Regions from separate parts of the Homo sapiens genome. Here region 1 is linked to region 2. The links are contacts of gene promoters, found by promoter capture Hi-C in human tissues and cell types (Jung and others, 2019). All regions are on one chromosome and are shown on one strand. The core of a region is centred on a gene start or on the middle of the fragment in contact, and the rest is flanking DNA. Distances in the headings are between cores, read along the strand shown.

Region 1 (5,056 bases), core at 440-2,939, 300 kb after region 2:
ACTCCTCACCATGAGTAAGCTCCTACAATGTTTGTGAACCCTTACGGTTTCCTTTGTTGGATACAAGAAGCACAGGTGGGGGGATGTATTGGTTTAAGTTTACCTTTTTTTTTTTTTTCTTTTTTTGAGACAGAGTCTTGCTCTGTTGCCCAGGCTGGAGTGCAGTGGCGCCCTCTTGGCTCACTGCCAGCTCCATCTCCCAGGTTCAAGTGATTCTCATGACTCAGCCTCCCGAGTAGCTGGGAGTCAGGCGCCCGCCACCATGCCCAGCCAATTTTTTTATTTTTAGTAGAGACCAGATTTCTCCATGTTGGCCAGGCTGGTCTCGAACTCCTGACCTCAAGTGATCTGCCTGCCTTGGCTTCCCAAAGTGCTGGGATTACAGGCGTGAGGCACTGCGCCCAGCCAACTGTACTATTTTGATAAAATGTATACATGTGCTCCTTATTATGCATTTTGTGGTTTTCATCAGTATTTTGCTTTTTGAAAAATGTCAAGTGTTCTGATCTCTTTGGACATTTTGTATGAACCCTATTTCCCTTGCTATCCTTATTGATTGAGAATTGTGCATATTGATTTGGGTAATAATAACTAGCACTTGGTGTTTTTCTGAGCTTGGATGTGTAGATTCATGTCTTTCATCAAACTCGGGTAGTTTTCAGTCATTGTTTCTTCAGGTATTTTTGCTGCCCCTCTCCTCTCCTTGTGGGACTCTTGTTATGTTAATACACATGTTGGTACTCTTGGTGGTACCCTATGAGTCTCTTAGGTTTTGCACTCATTTCAGCTCTTGAGTCTTCTTGTTATGTTAATACACATGTTGGTACGCTTGATGGTGCCCTATGAGTTTCTTAGGTTCTGCCCTCATTTCAGCTCTTGAGTCCTCTTGTTATGTTAATACACATGTTGGTAAGCTTGATGGTGCCCTATGAGTCTCTTAGGTTCTGTGCTCATTTCAGCTGTTGAGTCCTCTTGTTGTGTTAATATACATGTTGGTAAGCTTGATGGTGCCCTATGAGTCTCTTAGGTTCTGCACTCATTTCAGCTGTTGAGTCCTCAGTTCCAGAATTTCTCTTTAGTTTCTCTTTTAATAATTTCTTTTTGAGACAGGGTCTTGCTCTGTCGCCCAGGCTGGAGTGCAGTGGTGGTATCACGGCTTACTGCAGCCTCAACCTCCCAGGCCCAAGCAGCTCTCCCGCCTCAGCCTCCTGAGTAGCTGAGACCACAGGCCTGCTGCACTGGAAAAAAAAATTGTAGAAACAGGATCTCACTTTATTGTCCAGACTGCTTTCAAATTCTTGGACTCAAGTGATCTTCCTGCCTTGGCCTGCCTTGGGATTATAGGAGTGAGCTGCTGTGCCCAGCCTGTTTTTATAATTTCTGTCTCTTTATCAACATTCCATGTTAGTTTAAATGTTGTTCTTTTGGTCTCCTTTAGTTCTTTGTCCACAGTTTTCTTGAGATCTGTGAGCATATTTTTGTCTAAGACTGAGCACAGTGGCTCACACTTGCTTCCCAGCACTTAACCTTTGCTTTAAAGCCTAAAAAGGAAGAAATCTTTGCATATGTGTTTCCCAAATAACAGATTTGAGGGCTGTGTTGGTGACATAGGTCTGTTTATACCCACTGTGTGGCTAAAGCAGGTCTCTGTTAAATTAGCATCTACAAAGCTTTTCTCCTGCCTTCCCTCAAACTTAGGAAGCTCCCTATGCAATCTTCAGGCTGGGGTCCTTCACTGCCCCCTCTCAAGGAGGCCTACCCCTTCCCCCAGAAGGTGCAGTCTGTCACCCCATGTCTTATAAAGTGTAATGGTCTGGTGTCCCAAAGCCACAGAGAAGCCCATTCTAACCTTCCTGCAACTTTCTGAAGGTTGGAGAGCATGTTTGTTTTACTGCTAGGAGGCTCAAGGTCCCTGTGAACCTGCATCAGGTAGTAAGCCCTGCATGTCGGAAATACAGACTGCCTAACTCTTATCTAAGGTGATGTTTTGAGAAAATTTTTAAATGTATAATACATTTTATAAATTTCGAAAAAATTTTAATAAACATTAAATTTTTATAAGTTTATATAAATGTTATAAATTTTGAAAAATGTACAGAGTTGCATTGGAGCACACGCTCTCAGTGTTCATCGAAGACGTACAAGCAGCGTCTTACGACGATGTTGCTGCAGCTGCCTTGGGGTCTTGTTAAAAGCACCATTCAGTAGATTAATTCCCACCTGTGGACTGTGTTTTCTGGCTTCCAAAAGAAACTGTCATGTTTTTCTCTCTGGATGACGAAAACTCTGCACGTACTTCCTATGACAAGTGCGATTGGCGCCCACTGCTCTTGGCAGTTGAGGTGAGGACACAGCGTTTCTGTGACGGTGAAGGGGACAGGGTTTGGAGGGAGATTCAGACATTAAACAAGGAAACGAAGGGAGCAATTTCAGAGAATGGATAAAGTCGTTAAGAAAATACAAAAGGGCGGTGAGATCCTCAGTGATGGGGCCAACCAGTGACTTGAATAAGACTTGGGGAAGACCTCCTGGGGCGACATTTACGCTGAGAGCTTCTACCGTGAAGGAGCCGAGCAGGATGGACTCCTGACCGCAGCATCTCAAAGAGGAACGAAGGCTCGCACGAGCTGGGACAGCGGAAAGAGCAGAAGAGTGGGCACAGAAAAGCGCCTGGGGGCCAGATCCTAGAGGGGCTTCAGGAACACAGTGAGGGGTTTGGAAATTATTCAACATAAAGTCAGATACTGGGGAATACACGGGGGTGCAGTGGAAAGGAAGAGCGAGGGAGAGTGAGGCCATTCGGGAGCCACCACAGTGTTCGGAGTGAGACCAGAGCTGTGAAGAAAGAGAAAAGGAAATACGCTGCATGTAGGATTCTGAACTCAACGACTTTGCTGTTCTATTCAGTGAAAGAGAGTGAGATAGTAAGGTCAGTGAGTGACATGTTGGAGCCTTCCACATAGTAATGGTCTACAAAGTTATGGATTGATGAGTTCACACAGGAGGGAGTGAGAGATGAGGAAGGTGAATGGGTGGAAAAGCTTGAACCGGGTTCCCAGGCTCACTGGCATGGGGAGGTGGAGAAAAGGGGAGGAAGCAGCCGACATGGAAACCCGCAGAGGCTCCTTCAGAAGGGATATTTTATAGGAGAGGAGTCCGATTCTGAGAGGGGGAAGGGGTGGAGGACCAGAGTTTCCTCACAGGCTCTGGAGCACTGAGGTGGATGGTAAATTCCAGGAGAGCAGCTCCAGCTGAGGTCTAGGGACAGGGCATTCCCTCCCTGGTAGAGCCGTTGGGGCTCAGTGCCGAGGCTGGCTCAGGCTCTTGTGGGGGGCCCTGCTGTCTGTCCAGCCCTGGCTGTGGCCTGGCCTGACCCTGCTGCCCCCTGCAGGCCTGTGTACCTCAGTTCCCAGGTGATCAAGGGGCCCTGGGAGAGGTTGGGTCTGAGCACGTCCTGACATGGCCCCAGTGTCCAGTTCCCCGCCTGTTTTTGTTGGCTTGTTTAATCTTGGTAGGCTTTTAAGCTTTCAGGTTTTCAGGAAAATGCAAAGCATGAGACATCTTTGACTTTGTACGTGGACCGATTGTTCTTTTTTTGTGTTAATGGTGTTTTTTTCCTTGTGTGAACGTGTGTGTTTCGTGTTGCACTCCGCCCTGCTCTCCCTCCCTCCCTCCCTGTAGAACGTGGCATTTTGGCTGAACGTTAACACTGGTGGGGGCAGACGGCAGTGGGCCCCCGTTAAGACTGTTTAGAAAGGGCGTTGTCGGCATCTTCTCTTACATGTGAATTCAAGGATCCTTTATTTTTTTTCAGCTTTATTGATATGTAATTCGTCTACCATATAATTCACCCATTTAAAATATATAGTTCCATGGTTTTTAGAATATTCTATTATTACTTAGAAAATTGTGGCAAAATATGTATAACAAATTTGCTCTTTTTATTATTAAGCATGTTAATCCAGTGGCATTAATTACACTCTCACTTTTGTACAACCATCACCATTATCTGGTTCCAAAACTTCTCATCACCCCAGATTAAGAAGTCACTCGCCCCTGATGCTCCTTCCCTTCAACCCTTTGTAACTCTAGTCTACTTTCTGCTTGAAAAAGGACTTTGCCTGTTTTAGAGATCTTGTACAAGTGGAATTGGACAATATTTGGCCTTTCATGTCTGGCTTATTTTATTTAGCATCATGTTTTCAAGGTTAATCTGTGTTGTAGCATGTATCAGAATTTTCTTTCTTTTAAAGGCTGAATAATATTTCATTGTATGGACATACCATATATTTATTTATTTTATTTTTACTTTTATTTTTATTTTTTTTTGAGACAGAGTCTTGCTCTATCACCCAGGCTGGAGTGCAGTGGTGCGATCTCGGCTCACTGCAAGCTCCGCCTCCCAGGTTCACGCCATTCTCCTGCCTCAGCCTCCTGAGTAGCTGGGACTACAGGCGCCCGCCACCATGCCCGGCTAATTCGTTTTGTATTTTTAGTAGAGATGGAGTTTTATCATGTTAGCCAGGATGGTCTCGATCTCCTGACCTCATGATCCACCCACCTTGGCCTCTCAAAGTGCTGGGATTACAGGTGTGAGCCACCGCGCCCGACCCATATATTTATTTTTTAAAGATAGGATCTCACTGTATTGTCCAGGCTGGAGTGCAGTGGCTATTCACAGGCCCAATCATAGTACACCACAGCTTCCAACTCCTGGGCTTGAGCGACTCTCCCACCTCAGCCTCCTGAGTGGCTGTGATTGCAGGTGTGCACCACCGCCCCTGGCCATATTTTCTTGATCCATTCATTTGTCAGTGGACGCTTGGGTTATTCCCACCTTTTGGGTATTGTGAATAATGCTGCTGTGGACATGGATACAAGAACCTGTTTGACACCCCTTTTTTTAGTTCCTTTGGGTATATACCCTGAAGTGGAATTAGTGGGTCATGTGGTAATTCTATGTTCAGCTTTTTGAGAGCTTATCACTTTTTGTATGTAAAAATTACGAGTGTTTAGTTCTTAAGTCGGATCATGCATAAATGCAGAAACGTAGTTA
Region 2 (4,948 bases), core at 1,302-3,801:
AAAAAAAAAAAAAAAAAAAAAGACATGTAAATGTTACATTCAGAGGGACACATTAATTTCCATTTCTTTTAGAAAAAGTTTTTACACATTGAAGGAATAAAAATGCATGAACTGACCCTGATGTCTCCTGCCTGGGGCCCCCAGTTGGTGGTTCCTGTTCAGGATCTCCACTTTATCCTGCTCCGTTTAAGTCCAGTCTCAAGTCTTTCTACTCACACTAAACTCCTTTTGTACCTACATTATGATGATGATGATTATTTTCGAGACAGAGTCTGGCTTTGTCACCCAGGCTGGAATGCAGTGGTGCAATCTCCGCTTGCTTACTGCAATTTCCGCCTCCCGCGTTTAAGCGATTCTCCTGCCTCAGCCTCTCAAGTAGCTGGGATTATAGGCACGTGCCACCACACCCAGCTAATATTTGTATTTTTAGTAGATATGTGGATTCACCATGTTGGCCAGGCTGGTCTCCAACTTCTAACCTCAAGTGATCCACCCACCTCGGCCTCCCAAAGTGTTGGGATTCAGTCATGAGCCACCGTGCCAGGCCTCTGTACCTAAATTATATCATTTCTCTCTTCTAATTGTTCTTTGCTATTTAACAAGCAGCAAATAGAGGAACCCTGGGGTGTTTGCTATAACCTGTATATATAGGCTATAATAGGATCTTCTCCTCACACACCCTGCAGGAACCACCATGCTGAAAGAAGTGAGACAATTCAGGGGGCAGTCCCTCCCCAGCAGAGACTAAATTGGTACCATTTGTTGCTATTTCAGTTTTGCGAAGATGCGCGCTTGGAGCCCAAGCCATGGTTTCTAGGGCTGACACTGACTTCCCACGGAATTCTTCCTGTTTAAGAGGTTGTAGACTTTTCATGATCCTGAACCTTGAACGTCTCCACAACTGGTTAAGTACCCGTGAGATACATTTACAGGATTTTTTCTTTCTTTTCCCAATTTTTTTTTTTTTTTTTTTTTTTGAGACGGAGTCTCCTCTGTCACCCAGGCTGGAGGGCAGTGGCGTGATGTCTGCTCACCACAACCTCCGCCTCCCAGGTTCGAGCGATTCTACTGCCTCAGCCTCCCAAGTAGCTGGGACTGCAGGCACGCCCCACCATGCCTGGCTAATTTTTGTATTTTTAGTAGAGACGGGCTTTTACTATGTTGGGCAGGCTGGTCTTGAACTCCTGACCTTGTGATCCACCCGCCTCGGCTTCCCAAAGCACTGGGATTACAGGTGTGAGCCACCGCGCCCGGCCACAGGATTTTTTCTTTTTAATGTTAGGAGTTTCATTGATTAGTGAACATCTGGACTATTGATCATCTTGATTTAGATGGGATCTTGTAATTTTTTAAACGGTGGCGAAATTCTTTTTTTAAAAACTTAGTATCAGATTGGTTAAGATATTAACTATTCGTTCATGAGAGTTCATATATATATAGTTCATATATATATAGTTCATATATGTATATAGTTCATATATATAGTTCATATATATATAGTTCATATATATATAGTTCATATATATATATATAGTTCACATATATATAGTTCATATATATACATATGAGACGTAGTTTCACTCTTGTTGCCCAGACTGAAGTGCAGTGACGCGATCTCGGCTTACTGCAACCTCCACCTCCCAGGTTGAAGCAATTCTCCTGCCTCCGCCTCCCAGGTTTAAGCAATTCTCCTGCCTCAGCCTCCTGAGTAGCTAGGACTACAGGTGTGCACCACCACACCCGGCTATTTTTTTTTTTTTTTTTGTATTTTTAGTAGAGCTGGGATTTCACCATGTTGGCTAGGCTGGTCTCGAACTCCTGACCTCAGGTGATCCGCTCGCCTCGGCCTCCCAAAGTGCTGGGCTTACAGGCGTGAGCCACCGCGCCCGGCCTCGTGTATATTTTTAAACTGTGTGCTGACGACAGTTAAGTAAATGTGATTCAGAACTTCTGCGTATTTTGCAGGACAGTTTTGACACAATGACATGACTCGCTAGCCAGGAAAGATAACGACATCCAGTCCTGGAGCTGCTGGTTAAAAACGAACGTGTCACCGGGTCCCCTGGGTCTGAGGCCACGCGGCACGCGGCCCCTCCGCGATATTCCCGCACCTCGCGGGGAAAAGGCCGCTCGGCGGCCGGGCCTGGGCTCGCGGGCCGCCGCCTATCCGCACCCCGGCGTCCACGCCGGGTTGGGGGCCGCTGCGTGCCTGGCGCCCGCTGTGACCTTGGGCCTGGTCCCGCCCGCCGCGCCTAAGGCGCTGCCAGGCCGGGCTCAGACCCCCGAGCTCCCGCGCCCGCGCCAACCCCGCGCCAGCCCCGATCCCGCGCGGGCTGCCGACTGTCCGCCCCGGGTTTTCCGCGGCGCCCGGAGTCGGGACTGCGTCGGGCGTCGCCGCCGGACGTGCCGGCAGCTTGGTGCGACGTGTCTTGCCATTGGCCTGCTTCGGTAGCCCCACTGCCGTACGCCGCCCCCATTGGCCGGCGTAACCGTCCGTCAGCGAGGGGCGGGCCCGGCGTGCCGGCTCGGTGGCGCGGCCGCGCGTGCTCCCGCCCCTCGCCGCCGCTCGCTCGCTCGCCGGCCGGCGGCCTCCGCTCGGCCCCCTCCCTCAGCTCCGGTGCGCGGCGGCCGACGACCCGCGCGGCCTGGGCCTCGGCCCGCGCCACCGGCGCCCGCGCGGAGCGGCCCGGGGGCCCTCACGCAGGCCCATGGCGGCGGCCGCGGCGGCGCTCTCGGGCGCGGGCACGCCACCCGCGGGCGGCGGGGCCGGGGGCGGCGGGGCCGGGGGCGGCGGGTCCCCGCCGGGCGGCTGGGCCGTGGCGCGCCTGGAGGGCCGCGAGTTCGAGTATCTGATGAAGAAGCGCTCGGTGACCATCGGCCGCAACTCGTCGCAGGGCTCGGTGGACGTGAGCATGGGCCACTCGAGCTTCATCTCCCGGCGCCACCTCGAGATCTTCACGCCCCCGGGCGGCGGCGGCCATGGCGGGGCCGCTCCGGAGCTGCCGCCCGCGCAGCCCAGGCCCGACGCCGGCGGCGACTTCTACCTGCGCTGCTTGGGCAAGAACGGGGTATTCGTGGACGGCGTGTTCCAGAGGCGCGGGGCGCCGCCGCTGCAGCTGCCGCGCGTGTGAGTGGCCTCGGGGCGGGGCGGGCGGGGTCTGCGGCCTGCAGCGCCTGGCAGGACGGGACGGGACACGCGCCCAGGCCCGGGACCACCCACGAGCGGGGGCCCGACTCTCCCACAGCCGGGACCACCAGCGGGACCCAGGCCCCGGCTGGATCCCAACCCTCGACAGCCCCTGGCCCCGACCCCCGTCCTCCCGGTCCCCTTCCTGGCAGGTGCAGCCCCCCGTCTTTCCCCCTTCCTGGAGCCGGGGCTGCGGGCGGCTGCGCGCGCGGGTCAAGGTTTCTGGGTTCTGTGCGTGCGGGGAGTTCACGTGTGCTGTTTCTATTCTGCAGCGAGGTCGCGCTGAACAGAAATGTGAAAACGGTGTGCGGTGGGAGGAACTGCCCCGAACTAAAATCTATGTCTCTTAACCGATGAAGGGTTGTCTGTTGTCTTTTGTTGTTGTTGTTGTTCAGTCGTTTTCAGTAGTGAGCTGTTTCAAGAGTGCGGTGTTTTAAGCAGGAAGGACTCCTTTTTCCCTGCCGTGTTTTCAGTAGGCCAAATTGGAAGACGCTTCAAGCATGATGGATTTTCAATCTGTGCTCTGAACCTTAAAATTTAGGGAAAACTAGATGCTTTTCGCATAACTTCTACAAAAAGACAGTTGATTAGGAATTATTACAAGGTCATGTAGAGTGTTAAGTCAGCCTGATAGGGAACTGCCTATCCTGCTACAAAACAATTTAGCTTGGTCCTGTGGTTTTATGAAGTTATCGTTTACTCTGCTTGAAACACAAACTTGCTGTCTAGGAAATGCTAATTATTCCTCAGGGGCTCACTTCTAGATCATTGCAAGTACAGCCTTTGTCCACACAAACTGGAATTTTTTTGTTTTTTGTTTTTTGAGACGGAGGCTCACTTTGTCGCTCAGGCTGGAGTGTAGTGGCGCGATCTTGGCTCACTGCAATCTCCGCCCTTTGAGTTCAAGTGGTTCTCCTGCCCCAGCCTCCCGAGTAGCTGGGATTACAGGCGCCTGCCACCGCGCCCGGCTAATTTTTTGTATTTTTAGTAGAGACGGGGTTTCACCATCTTGGCCAGGCTGGTATTGAACTCCTGACCTCGTGATCCACCCGCCTCGGCCTCCCAAAGTGCTGGGATTACAGGCGTGAGCCACCGCGCCCGGCCTACAAATTGGAATTTTTAACGCTTTCGGTTGTTGGAGATGCTGGTAAGAGCTGTTGCTTTTCTTCTTGACTTGCGTGTTGTGTGTGTGTGCATGCGCTGTTCTGTTTCTTAGCATGGAAAGGTGCACCAGCATATTCCTTAAACTTTGGTAGTAGCATTTTAAAGAATGTTATTTTCAGGCCGGGCGCGGTGGCTCACGCCTGTAATCCCAGCACTTTGGGAGGCCGAGGCGGGTGGATCACGAGGTCAGGAGGTCGAGACCATTCTGGCTAACACGGTGAAACCCGTCTCTACTAAAAATACAAAAAAAAAAAAAAAATTAGCCGGGCGCGGTGGCGGGCGCCTGTAGTCCCAGCTACTCAGGAGGCTGAGGCAGGAGAATGTGAACCCTGGAGGTGGAGCTTGCAGCCAGCGAGATCGCACCACTGCACTCCAGCCTGGGGGACAGAGGAAGACTCCGCCTCAAAAAAAAAAAAGAAATTTTCAAATGAAAATGCTATTTATGTGTGTTTATACTGTAGACGGTATGAAATCAATGGTAGGGTCCTAATGGCTACCCTTTAATCTGACTTTTTTTTTTTTTTTTTTTTTTTTACAAAATACTGTGTCACAACAAAGGAAGTTTGCGTCTACTGTGAGGATCTTGAGTTTTTGTTT

Evidence for each region. Contacts are between HindIII fragments. The study calls those that stand out against the background at their distance.
Region 1: a fragment that was not itself captured here is called in contact with the fragment with the promoter of FOXK2 in region 2 in 1 of the 25 tissues and cell types used here (dorsolateral prefrontal cortex).

What each region holds. Positions count from the first base shown.
Region 1 is chr17:82,819,871-82,824,926 of GRCh38, forward strand. The region is part of intron 13 of TBCD (tubulin folding cofactor D); the gene reads left to right. Among named protein-coding and RNA genes, the nearest start is that of ZNF750, 18 kb to the right of the region's middle. The HindIII fragment of the contact is 3,186 bases long and covers 97-3,282 here.
Region 2 is chr17:82,517,181-82,522,128 of GRCh38, forward strand. FOXK2 (forkhead box K2) reads left to right here and starts at 2,552. Exons shown (of 9, transcript NM_004514.4): 1 at 2,552-3,127. The coding sequence starts at 2,709. RefSeq lists silencers at 1,972-2,631, 3,082-3,261, 3,342-3,391. The HindIII fragment of the contact is 19,651 bases long and covers 1-4,948 here.